2 separate regions of the Homo sapiens genome follow, and region 2 is linked to region 1. Evidence: promoter capture Hi-C in human tissues and cell types (Jung and others, 2019). All regions are on one chromosome and are shown on one strand. Each heading gives the region's core, a stretch centred on a gene start or on the middle of the fragment in contact. The rest is flanking DNA. Distances are from core to core; before and after follow the strand shown. Region 1 holds the start of GNG4 (G protein subunit gamma 4). Region 2 overlaps LYST (lysosomal trafficking regulator).

Region 1 (6,944 bases), core at 1,457-3,956:
GAGACCAGCCTGGACAACAAGTTGAAATCCGGTCTCTACTAAAAAGGCAAAAATTAGCTGGGTGTGGTGGTGGACGCCTGTAATCCCAGCTGCTCAGGAGGCTGAGGCAGGAGAATCACTTGAACCTGGGAGGCGGAGGTTGCAGTAAGCTGAGATGGCACCATTGCACTCCAGCCTGGGCGACAAGAGCGAGAGTCTGTCTCAAAAAAAAAAAAAAAAAAAAAAGATACAGATAGATTTAAAAATTAAAAGGATATAAACACATATCATGCAAACACTAATAGTAAGAAATCTGCAGTGGTTATATAGATATAAACAAAGAAGACTTCAGAACAAAGGATATGACTAGGAATAAAGAAGAAAAACCTTGGGAGGCCGAGGAGGGCAGCTCATGAGGTCAAGAGATCGAGACTATCCTGGCCAACACGGTGAAACCCCATCTCTACCAAAAATACAAAAATTAGCTGGGCATGGTGGCGTACGCCTGTAGTCCCAGCTACTCTGGAGGCTGAGGCAGGAGAATCGCTTGAACCCAGGAGGAGGAGGTTGTAGTGAGCCGAGATCGCGCCACTGCACTCCAGCCTGGGCGACAGAGCGAGACTCCCTCCCACTCCGCAAAAAAAATAAATAAATAAGAAGAAAGAAAACTGATACCCAGGGTCCTGGTGCCAGACTTTACACTACTGCAGCTATCCTGGGTGATGTCCAGAGATGAACGGAATCAGAATTACCTGGAGGGTTTGGGGAATCACAGGTTGCTGGGCCCCACCCCCAGAGTTTCTGATTCCTTAGGTCTGGGTGGGGCCTGGGAGTCTGCATCTCTAAAAGATTCCCAGGTGACACGCTGATTCTACTGGTCTTGGGATCCACTCTGGAACCACTTGTTGACTGACCTCTTCCTCCTGTTTAAAACTGACATGATCCTATCTTGAATGATAGTGTAACAATTAGAAAGATAAAATAAGGAAATGATGCGCTTGAAAGTGTAGACACTGATTTCCCTTGTGATTGATTAATTGAGATTGGGATTTGGGATAAAAGGAAACCTAGGATTCTGCCTTAGCCAACCAGTCGGGGGCGGGAGGTGGGCAGGAAATGCAGGAGAAATAAGATTTTGGGGTGAAAACAATGAGCTAGGGTTTGGATTTGCTTGAATTTTCAATGCAGTACTCATATATCTTTCTCACTTTTAAAAGTCTGTGAGGTGGACATGGACTGGCTTCGTCGGTTTGCCAAGGTTTAATTTTGTGCCTTAAATGGGCACTTGAGAGCTTTGTAAAAACCGATGTGTTTGCTGGCCCCGTGTTTACGGGCCTTTGTGATCTCCGCGTTCGCATCCAATCTGGCCCTTGGGCTCCGAGAAGGTACACGTGTGTGTAGGGCAAGGTCCAACCAGTGGGGCCAGGGATCTGAGCAACAAGCGCGCCCTGTGTCCTTTGTGGCAGGGACCGCTTGTGGACGGCGGATGAGGATGAGGCGCCCAGATCTTCCCGAAATATTTCCTAATCGTTCATCATGATGTTATGTTGTTGTTTTCACAAAGGGAATTAATATTGGCCTCCTTTTCTACAAATCTTGCCAACACTGCGTGAAATGTTTTCGTTGCTTCTCTATTCCCAAGGTTTCGTATTATTTTACCAAGTCGGAAAATGGACGGCGCTTAAACTGTTTTTTCCCTGAAAGGAAGAGGGCTGTAATCACTAAAGTGTTTTAAAATCTCCAGCGCAAAAGCCTGCGGTGCCACAGGGACGAGGCCTGGAGAGCAGTCGCTCCTAGAACCGGGGCGCGAAGGGCACCCCCGCCTCCAGCACGCGCCCTCCGCCCTCCCGGCCTCGCTCCCCCCGGAGTGGGGGCCTCGCCGGCCCCTGGTCCCCGTCACTCAGCAACGTCGGGTCAGCCTTCGCCGGGTTAGTGGCGACGCGGCCGCGCGAATTCGCACAGGTATTCCGCGTTTCTCCGCCGTTCCCCGCCTTGGCCGGAGGCTTCCGAGGCGTCCCTTGGTGCAGGGTGGGAAGCGGCCCGCGCCCCAACGGCCCAGGCGCTGGAGCTCACCCCGAGCGAGGGCGGTACCTGAGGCTTCGGGGAGCCCGCGCTGACCGCGGCCCCGTCCCCAGACCCCTCCAGCAACCCCGGCCCCGCCCCAGACCCCTCCGGTGATTTCCCCCCCGGCCCCGCCCCGCAGATCCCTCCAGTGATCTCCCCCCCGCCGCGCCCCCCAGACCCCCCCCCAGTGATTTACCCCCCGGCCCCGCCCCACAGACCCCTCCAGTGGTCCCCCGGCCACGCGGGCTCCGGGGGGGCGGGGCGGGGGCGCGGCCCTTTGCTGGGACAGGGGGCGTGGGCCCGAGTAGCGGGCGGGGGGCGCGGGCCCGGGCTGGGGCGGGGGCGGGGGCGGGGAGCGCGGGAGCCCCGGTGACGCAGCAGTGACGTCGGTGGCAGCGGGCGGGATTTCCCGGGCGAGACCCCGCGGCGGAGTGGGCGCGGCCAGCGTGGAACGGGGGCGAGGGTCGCAGAGTCGCCGGCTCTCCCTTCCCCAGTCTGGGCCCCCACGGCACAGGGGGCCGAGCAGAAGCCCCCAGCGTCCAGGGCCGGGGGAGGGTCCGCCTGCGCCCCCAGGCCCGCGTGGTCGGGCCCTGCAGGGCGGGAGGCGCGGCGCGGGGCGGGGCCGGTGACGGGACGCGGAGACCCCGCGGGCGGCGGGAGGGGCACGAGGCGCGCGTTTGCACCCGAGCCCGGCCCGCGCCCCGATGCGGAGCGATGCCGCTCGGCCTGGCCGCCCCCCGCGAGCACCGCGCTGCAGACGAAGCCCGCGCGTGATCCCGCTCCGGGTAAGTGGGCGCCCGGCCGGAGCCCCGGGTGTCCGCGGGGAGAGCCCAGCCCGGTGCAGCCAGACGCGGAAGGGAAACTCGGGGTGAAAGTCTCCGGACCTAGGGAGACGGCTCTGGCGCCGGTGTGGTCCTCACGCCGCCAGCTGCTGCTGCACGCGACACAAAGACCTGTGGTTCCCTCGGCCTCCTCTCCCGGGACCTCCCGCCGGGCCCCGGGGAAGCCCGCGCGCGGGTGTGGACAGCCCCCTCGGAGCGCGTCCAGGGGCTTCCGGGGCTGGGGGCGCCCGGTCCCTCCGGCATGAGGCAGGCGGGGGCTCGGGGGTCCCCTCTTCCATTTGTAGGTCACAGAGCGTTTGCTGTTTTCCCAGCGGGGACGTCCCCCGTGGAAAAGGACCTCAGTGGCAGGAGATGGCGTGGCTGGTTGGGCGTTTTCTTTGGGGAAATGTTTCTGGCGAGTGCCTGAGGAAGCCCTCCTGGCTCCCCAGCAGCCCAGACGCCGCCTCGGGAGCACTCGGGGTGACGCTGGAGCCACCGCAGCTGAGGGTGGTTTTCCTCACCTCCTTGATGGCGTCTGTCCCCGAGGCTGGTGCTGAACTGAAATGTGCTTCGTTCGCCGCGCGCGCCCGGCAGCAACCGGGGAGCTTTGTTTGGCTTGATTTTTTAAATTGCCTTGGAAATAACGCGAAACGGCGGGAGGGTGAAGTGGGGAGGAGGACAGAGCGTGGTGGGGAAAGACTCCTTAATTTAAGATTTGCTTCATTTCGAGTATTTGGGGCTAAGGTGTTAGGAAACCCGAAAATGTTAAAGTTTGATCAAGTAATAAAGTGGATGATGGACGCCGGGCCTCCCACCGTCTCCCCGGCCCCGCGGCTGCCGCGTCTCTCCTCTACCCGTCGCCTCCCAGGACTGTCAAATGCTGGCACCGGGCCCGTGCCTCTCAGCCGGAGCAAAAGGCCGCCTAGGCTGCGCCCGTGTGCTCCATTAAAACGTGCCAGTCCTGTCGTCTGCTCATGAGTGAGGTGTGCCGCTTCCCACAGTGGACAGGAAATTTGCAGCGGCGAATGCCTCACAGTAGCCATGGGGGACCTGGGCTCTGCGGCCGGCTTCTCGATTCCTCCCGCAACTCCTTTTCCTGATTTTTGTATGAGGCGGGGGAGGGGAACCAGCCGCCATCTGATCTGGCCCTGTTCCCTGCAAGAGGCGACTGGGGGGACAACTAAGTTGATAAATGGAAAGCCTTTTCCAGCCCGGAGAAACAGACAGAGGACCTATAAACTGGATTGTTTTTGAAATGTAGGGTTTGCTCAGTGACCGGTCATGATAAGAGATGGCTGTGGCACTTAATAAATAGTAGGTGTAAATGCAAATGCAAGGTTTACAGTGATGCCTTGCCTGTTAATGAGCAGCCTCACCATGGGGTTAGTTAGGCTGAAATGACTATTTAGGACAATGGACTTCCTGTTGGCCCCCACCTCCATGCACAACTCCAGTGCTCATAGGCCTTAAAATTCGCCCAAGGAAGCCAGTGGAGGATGTAGGCCTGGCTCAGAAACAGCACAGCTAAGGGGCCATTCCCAGCAGTCCTATGATTGGCGTTTCTCATGCAAACTGATGGTGGAGAAACCAGAAAAAAAAAAAGCTTTTCCTAGATTCACTTTACAGTTTTTAAAGCAAAAGTGACAGTCCCTGAAGTCCCCCAATATTCAGTGCATTCTTTGAAATGATAGAACATCAGGTGGGAACATCGCCTGTAATCCCAGCACTTTCAGAGGCCGAGGCAGGCAGATCACTTGAGGTCAGGAGTCCGATACCGGCCTGGCCAACGTGGTGAAACCCCGTATCTACTAAAAATGCAAAAAATTAGGCGGGCGTGGTGGTGCACGCCTGTAATCCCAGCTACTTGGGAGGCTGAGGCACGAGAATCACTTGAACCTGGGAGGCAGAGGTTGCAGTGAGCTGAGATGGTGCCACTGCACTCTGGCCTCAAAATAAATAAACAACATGAGGTGGGAACATGGACCCTGACCCCTGGGGAAGCAAGAGCCACAGCTGTCTCAGGAGGGCAGGAACACTGTAAAATGTGTACAATGCTCCTTCCCCCAAGACCTACACGCCCAAACCCACGCCTACCACAAAACTACTGCTTATGCAGAAAGCAAAGACTAAGGTCTGTACCCAACAATTTCTTCTTTTATTTATAGCTGCATCTCACTTATTTCACTATCACATTTTTCCTAGTTTGTCTCAGTTTCTGCTTGGAGAGGGGAGAATGCCTAATAATGTATGTCAGAAGATTGCCCCTTTCTTCGTGGAATTTTGAAGTAGTAACTTTAAAATATTACCTGATTTTTGTTCTTGAAACACCTTTTAAGGATATACTGCTATCTAATCTTGCTGGTTTTCCTTTTTTAAAATTTGGTATTTTTATTCATTCTAGATATACTTAGGCATAGAGACTTGTATTATTCAGGTAGAGAGATTGTTTCTTTTTTAAAACCAGAAACCAAAATTTAACTCCTTTAATAGAGGTATAAGTACTACATAAATAACCTATCAACAGTGGATAGCAAGGATATTTTAATTGAAAGTCAGAAAAGCTAAATGGTATCAGGAAAGAAAAGGAGATTGCAGGGTAATACTACCGAAAGACTGAAAGAAGCTGGTTAAAAACCTCTAAAGAATAAGCCAAAGACTGTTAATAAATGATCAAAAGTAAAAACACAAATGAAATTTTCATTTTAGGAAATGTTAAGAAATAGGGGCTAGAAAAGCTGCTGAAAGAAAAAAATTACTGCAGAGAAAACAATGGGTGCTTAAAAAGAGATCAGTTCAGTGAGCTTGCTGGAGCGTTCCAAATTCCTCTAATTGCCAAGGAGTTCTTGTTAGACTGAATGGTGGCTGGTGGGCAATCAGATTCCCTGCTGGAAATTGGTAGACAGAGTGACAGGTGCCATGCAGATAAGGGAAAGCCGGCTGTGTGCAAGACGCCGTGCTCACTGGGGAAGGAGCCCTGGGTGCCCAGGAGTGAGGAAGTATAGGGAGCTATGGAGGAACTGTTCGTCTCCATGGCCGTGAGGTTTGTGGGTCACCAAAGGCCCAGTCTCCGAGGATCGGATAGGGCTAGGAGCCCAGGTTAGTGGGCAACAAGGGGAAAGAAGGGCAATGATTGGGCTAGACGTGTCATGTGGATGATCTCCTTTGATACTCACAGGATACCTGCCAAGTTTCTAATTTGCAAAAAACAGCAGTGACTGCTTGTGTCCTCTCTGTCCAGGAGTGTTCTGGCAGCGGGTTTGGTGGGTGGTGGGAACCTTTTTTAACTGATGTAGGAAAAGTATACACAAATGACAAGTGAAAGTGACAGAGACGTGTGGAAGAGAAAAAAGTGGAGAACTGTAGAGAGACCCACACTCAGGCACTGCACATGAGCTCCTTTCCCAGGAGGATTTGTTTCTCTTGCTTCTTAGATTTCTAAAACCATTTCTCTCTGAGTTGCTGGGTTGGCTTTCTGTGGTGTGACACATGTGCTCTGAGGCCATGGAAGGCCCTAGAGATAGAAGAAGCACTCTAAGTATCCCTCTGGGCCAGAGAGATTGTTTCTTCCCCAACACCCCCTGTGCATGAGGCGGGACAACAGCCACGATGGATCATATGAGCTGGCATTAACTGTGCCTTTATGCCTTTCTCATCAGTGCCTGGACCTCCTCCTGGTGCCCCTGCCTAATGTACAGCTGTAAGGCCTTGTCTTCTGTCCCCTCCATATGGGCTCCAACAAAGAAAGAGAGGCAGGGCGATAAAATAGGAAGAAGGAAAACATTTTTAACTCTTTTTAAACATTCTTTTTTTTTTTTTTTTTTTTTTTTTGAGACTGAGTTTCCCTCTTGTCTCCCAGGCTGGAGAGCAATGGCACGATCTTGGCTCACTGCAACCTCCGCCTCCTGGGCTCAAGCGATTCTCCTGCCTTGGCCTCCCAAGTAGCTGGGATTACAGGCATGTGCCACCGCGCCCGGCTAATTTTGTATTTTTAGTAGAGACGGGGTTTCTCCACGTTGGTCAGGCTGGTCTCGAACTCCTGACCTCAGGTGATCCACCTGACTCGGCCTCCCAGAGTGCTGG
Region 2 (6,753 bases), core at 1,087-3,586, 53 kb before region 1:
TTTCTTAGATAAGTGTTTATAAAAAGTATTCACAACAAGAGCAACAATTGACAAGTGGGATCTAACTTAAGAGCTTCTGCACAGGAAAAAAAACTATCAATAGAGTAAACAGACAACCTACAGAATGGGAGAAAATATTTGCAAACTGTACATCTGACAAAGGTGTAATATCCAGCATCTATAAGGAACTTAAACAAATGTATAAGAAAAAAACAACCTCATTAAAAAGTGTGCAAAGGACATAAACAGACACATTTCAAAACAAGACATACGTGTGACCAACAAACATATGAAAAAAAGCTCAATATCACTGATCAATAGAAAAATGCAAATCAAAACCACAGTGAGATGCCGTCTCCCACCAGTCAGAATGGTTATTACTAAAAAGTCAAAAATAACAGATGCTGGCGAGGTTCTGGAGAAAAGGGAACACTTGTACACTGTTGGAGGGAATGTAAATTAGTTCAACCACTGTGGAAGGCAGTGTGGTGATTCCTCAGAGAGCTAGAAACAGAACTACTATTCTACCCAGCAATCCCTTTACTAGGTATATACCCAAAAGAATGTAAATCATTCTACCGTAAAGACACATGTACATGAATGTTCACTGCAGCACTAGTCACAATAGCAAAGACATGGAATCAACCTAAATGGCTATCAATGACAGATTGGATAAAGAAAATGTGGTATATATACACCATGGAATACTTTGCAGCCATAAAAAAGAACAAGATCATGTCCTTTGTTGGAACGTGTATGGAGCTGGAGGCCATTACCCTTAGCAAACTAATGCAGGAACAGAAAACCAAATACCACATGTTCTCACTTGTAAGTGGAAGCTAAATGAGAACTCATGGACACAAAGAGGGGAACAACGACACTGGTGCCTATTTTAGGGTGAGGGATAGGAGGAGGGAGAGGATCAGAAAAAATAACTACTGGGTACTAGGCTTAGTACCTGGGTGATGAAATCATCTGTACAACAAACCCCTGTGACTCAAGTTTACCCAAATAACAAACCTGCACATGTACTGCTGAACCTAAAGGTTTTTTTAAAAAAAGGATTTGATCACTGGTGCTGGGAGTTGTGGTGAGGAGAATGGAGTTGAAGATGACCTAACTTCTGAAATATCTTTGGAATTTTATTTTGGCATTTATAGAAATGTTATGTCTAGATATGTAATGAAAGCCACTATGACTGATTAAATATACGAAAAGCTAAGCCATCAAGTGGATATGTACAAAATATGGCTGATCTGTACTCAATTACTGACCGCCAGCTTTAGAAATAAGTAAATGTGCATTGCTCTCCATCTGACTCTACGGGATAATGACACTAAGAAAAAATATGCTTCTTAGTGCAGTAATTTTATTAGTACAATAATACCCTTTACATTTAAGAGCTTTGAATTTTCATTGCTGCTCTTTTGGTTTTATCCCCAATATTGATTAGAACCTAAATAATTATCTCTTCAACTATCTACCAGCATTGTATTTTAACTTCATTTTTGCCTTTTCCTATATATTGCTTTGGATAAGCAACTTCTTCAATAATTTAGTATCAGGTCATATATGATATTCTCAGATCTTAAATTAAAAGCTAATTTTATAAACATAACTAATTATAACCATCAGTCAAGATACGTTGTTTTTGTTCACCTATTCAGAAACATTGATACTTCTGATCTCAGTGAGACCATGAGTGATTGTTAACCTGAACAAAAGCATTTTTTCCATAACCTAGAATATAAAACAAAGTGTTGTTTTTCCCTTTGGTATTATTGTCAAGTCTTTCTTTTTACTACATATGTCTTGTTCCTTTACTCTTTCACTCTGCAGACATATTTTGGAATGGATGTCTCTGCAGTTGAAGATCCAGTTCAGAGACGAGCGCTAGAAACCATGATAAAAACCTACGGGCAGACTCCCCGTCAGCTGTTCCACATGGCCCATGTGAGCAGACCTGGAGCCAAGCTCAATATTGAAGGAGAGCTTCCAGCTGCTGTGGGGTTGCTAGTGCAGTTTGCTTTCAGGGAGACCCGAGAACAGGTCAAAGAAATCACCTATCCGGTATGTCATTTGGATTTCAATCGAGTGCAGCAAAACCTGATTAGACTCTTGTGATGCCAGGCACTCTCCCAGGTGATGAATAGCATGGTCCTGGCCTAAAGCTGTGTGCCAGTCAGTGCAAGACAGGTGCAGCAGCGAAAGCAGAATCCTGTGCGAGGTAAATGCTGTGTTAGCGATATGAGAGAGTGCTTTGGGGAGCTCAGAGGAAAAAAGAATTCATCGTTTCAGACGGTAACCTCCCTCAGGGAGCAGAGAGAATTGTTATTCCCAGGGAAAGCCTCGCAGGGCAGTGACATAATAGGATTTTTCAAGCAAGAAGAGAAGGACTAGAGAATAGTTTGAGCATTGGTGTGCCAGTGTACACATGCATACCATGGTCTTGGTTATCATCTACAATCAAAAGGATTGACCAGTGATGCGGATGTTTTGGTTTATACCTAAGGGGAACTTTACATATTTCTTTGGCCTCCTCAGGTTGTAATGATAAGAAGTATTGCCTCCAAAAATAGGAAGTAGGTATAATTTTTACTTCAAAATAGAAAAATCAAGCAAGCCTTAAAGCTAAAGTGGATTTTAATCTTCAACTCAATTCTTCGTTATAAAAACAGCATAAGATAGTAGAATGTGAATTGTAAGCACTGTAAGGGTTTGCAGAAGGAAATCACAGAAAATGAAAAGGTAAGGGAAAGACGTTGTAAAGGACCTTAAAGATGAAATAACTCAGTGTATCTCAAAGTGCAGTAATCTGTGACCTATTTTAAGAGGAAAAGGTTTTTACACACCTACACCTTGTTTTGACTATTATTCCTTGTAATATTACTTTATGTAAGACAGAACACTGGATATAAATTATTTGCGCTCATAGCTCACATATGTCAAATGTTCATGTTAAATACAAACAAAACTTATTCCACCAGTGAAATTCAATTTTAAAGCATTAATATGGTAGACAGTGTTGTTTTGCTAAAACTAAATTACAAGTGTTGAGTTTCATAATAGAAAACTATATTTTTTGTTTTCTGTTTTTGAAGCTTCACAAATCACTTTAGTCACTGTAATTACCAGGGTCACTATTTTTAACTACAATCTGTCACTTGATTGATTGATTGATTGATTGATTGAGATGAGTCTCGCTCTGTCGCCCAGGCTGGAGTGCAGTGGCACAATCTCGGCTCACTGCAACCTCTGCCTCCCGGGTTCAAACAGTTCTCCTGCCTCAGCCTCCCGAGTAGCTGGGATTACAGGCGCCCGCCACCACACCCAGCTAATTTTTGTATTTTTAATAGAGACGGGGTTTCACCATATTGGCCGGGCTGGTCTCGAACTCCTGGCCTCATGATCTGCCCGCCTCGGCCTCCCAAAGTGCTGGGATTACAGATGCGAGCCACCACACCCAGCCCAATCTGTCACTTTAACATGTCAGCATAATTTTACAATACATCCCTGAAAATTAATAAATGCCATTTAATTTACTACTATACTTACTGCTCGTTAGCTGTTAAAGTTGTATCTGAGCAGTATGTCTGCTCGCAGTGGGAACATGGTACCAGCCTGCTTCATTCCCACCTCAGAACCTTTGTGATGACTCTTTGCTCCACCTGGAATAACCACTCCCCAGATATATCCCCAGTTTGCTCCCTCATCTCATTCAAGTCTCTGCTCAGACATCTCTTCCTCAGAGTCTTCCCTGACCCCCATTTAAATGCTTTCCAAAAGCTCTGATTATATCTAAGTCTAATTATGTCTAAAACAGCTGTTCCGTCATCCTCAGATCCCTTCCCCTTCTTTGTTTTGGTGTATAGCACTTCTATCACCTGACATATTGTATATGTATTTGTTTATTTATTTGTCTATACTCCCATCCCAAATAGAATGTAACTCCATAAACACAAGGACTTTGTCTGTCTTGTTCATTACTGTGTCCCCAGTTCCTAGGAAGGTCCTGGGCATATAATAGACACTCAGCATTTTTTAAATTAATGTCTTCTCTGATGCAAATTCTTTAAGGTTTGGTTTGCTGCATTTCTGTGTGATGTGTAATGACATTTATGCCACTGCTTTTCTTTATTTGAACCACGGTGAAACTTTCGACACCATACTGCTTCTTGACTCTGTGGGCCTTCACTTGACATCTACACAAAATGCAAACACAAGCCTTGAAACCAAGCAACAGTACTCATTTATAAGGGGGTCATCTGGATGACCCAGGTATGCTTGTGTGAACTTCAGTTCACTATTGAAGTTCAAAACAATCAGAGCTGTATAAAAAGCATTTCAATAAAGCACTCCTCTTTAAATATTCTATGAGAAGTGGCTGTTCATATCCTTTGCCCACTTTTTCATGAGGTCGTTTGTTTTTTTCTTGTAAATTTGTACCAGTTCCTTGTAGATTCTGGATATTAGACCTTTGTCAGATGGGTAGATTGCAAAAATTTTCTCCCATTCTATAGGTTGCTTGTTCACTCTGATGGTAGTCTCTTTTGACGTGCAGAAGCTCTTTAATTAGATCCCAGTTGTCAATTTTGGCTCTTATTGCAATTGCTTTTGGCCTTTTCGTCATGAAATCTTTGCCCGTGCCTATGTCCTGAATGGTATTGCCTAGATTTTCTTCTAAGGTTTTTATGGTTTTGGGTTTTACATTTGTCTTTAATTCATCTTGAGTTAATTTTTGTATAAGGTGTAAGGAAGGGGTCCAGTTTCAGTTTTCTGCATATGGCTAGCCAGTTTTCCCAGCACCACTTATTAAATAGGGAATCCTTTCCCCATTGCTTGTTCTTATCAGGTTTGTTGAAGATCAGATGGTTGTAGATGTGTGGTGTTATTTCTTAAGTCTCTGTTCTATTCCATTGGTCTATATGTCTGTGTTGGTACCAGTATCATACTGTTTTGGTTACTGTTGGAAAAAAGCTCAGGATCACTGATCATTAGAGAAATGCAAATCAAAACCACAAGGAGATACCATCTCACACCAATCAGAATGGCGATTATTAAAAAGTCAAGGAACAATGGATGCTGGTGAGGCTGTGGAGAAATAGGAACGCTTTTACACCGTTAGTGGGAATGTAAATTAGTTCAACCCTTGTGGAAGACAGTGTGGCAATTCCTCAAGGATCTAGAACCAGAAGTACCATTTGACTCAGCAATCCCATTACTGGGTATATACTCAAAGGAATATAAATCATTCTACTCTAAAGACACATGCACTCGTATGTTTATTGCAGCACTATTTACTATAGCAAAGACATGGAACCAACACAAATGCCCATCAATGATAGACTAGATAAAGAAAATATATACCATGAAATACTATGCAGCCGTAAAAAATAATGAGATCATGTCATTTGCAGGGACATGGATGAAGCTGGAAGCCCTCATCCTCAGCAAACTAACACAAGAACAGAAAACCAGACACCGCTTGTTCTCACTCATAAGTGGGAGTTGAACAATGAGAACACATGGACACAGGGAGGGGAAAAACACACCCTGGGGCCACGCGGTGGAGTTGGTGGGGATGGGAGAGAGAGCATCAAGACAAAACCTAGATGATGGGTTGATAGGTGCAGCAAACCACCATGGCACACGTATACCTATGTAACAAACCTGCACGTTCTGCACATGTATCCCAGAACTAAAGTAAAAAAAAGAAAGGAGAATAATGATCATAAATATGCTATGATATAAAACAGTTGCCCTTGTATCTTTCTGTGTCATTGAAAAACTAGAAGTTTAAACTCTGCAACTCATATAAAAGGAAGTTCCTTTTATATGAATTCCTGGCAAGGAATTGTGAATGATAAATTATAACTAAAATTTAGCACACACATTTTTCTCAACTTTATTTGTTGATTTTTTTTGTTTTTGTTTTTGTTTTTTTGAGACAGAGTCTTGCTTTGTTGCCCAGACTGAAGTGCAGTGGCGTGATCTCGGCTTACTGCAAGCTCTGCCTCCCAGGTTCATGCCATTCTCCTGCCTCAGCCTCCCGAGCAGCTGGGACTGCAGGCACCCGCCACCACGCCCAGTTAAATTTTTTTGTATTTTTAGTAGAGACAGGGTTTCACCATGTTAACCAGGATGGTCTTGATCTCCTGACTTCATGATCCGCCCGCCTCGGCCTCCCAAAGTGCTGGGATTACAGGCTTGAGCCACCGCGCCCGGCCTTTCTCAACTTTAATATTGATAGATTTGGATCCCACAGGGGAGCCACAAAAAAACACTGTTAGACAAAATTTTAGAAGCTTGTTTTCAAAATGCCTGACCCTAACGTCTCTGTTCCCACATGAGCATTCCTGAAGCTCTTAAGCTTTTCCAGAGATACTCATTTTTTAGACCACTATGATATCATTTAACATGTCCCCTAAATAGTCTGACAGAATTATTAGAGCTCCTAAAGTGGCACGATTTTTTTAAAAGATAGTCTATACGTCAGTGATGCCTTTTTTTTCATTTATTTGGAAAATGACATAAGCAAGTTTCACTAAAAATCAGGTTTTTTACAGAAATGACTGAAAATTGCTTAATATATTATTTTTATTTTATGTAGCATTTCCTCTGAAGAGTTGAAAGTAAAATAATGGGTTAAACTCTTAAATGTATAAAAGGAGGGAATCCATTAAAAAAGAAGAGTTCAGTAGAGGATAAAACAGTCATAAGGAGAACAAAAAGAATAGAACTATTTGGGGAAAC

The links. The method cuts DNA at HindIII sites, captures the fragments that hold promoters and counts their contacts. A contact is called where the count stands out against the background at its distance.
Region 2: a contact is called between a fragment that was not itself captured here and the fragment with the promoter of GNG4 in region 1, in 2 of the 25 tissues and cell types used here (hippocampus and psoas muscle).

What each region holds. Positions count from the first base shown.
Region 1 is chr1:235,645,546-235,652,489 of GRCh38, reverse strand. GNG4 (G protein subunit gamma 4) reads left to right here and starts at 2,706. Exons shown (of 4, transcript NM_001098722.2): 1 at 2,706-2,828. RefSeq lists enhancers at 890-1,741, 4,207-4,501 and a silencer at 2,732-2,841. The HindIII fragment of the contact is 19,046 bases long and covers 1-6,944 here.
Region 2 is chr1:235,698,064-235,704,816 of GRCh38, reverse strand. It overlaps LYST (lysosomal trafficking regulator), which reads left to right. Exons shown (of 53, transcript NM_000081.4): 45 at 1,840-2,070. Among named protein-coding and RNA genes, the nearest start is that of GNG4, 52 kb to the right of the region's middle. The HindIII fragment of the contact is 8,005 bases long and covers 1-6,338 here.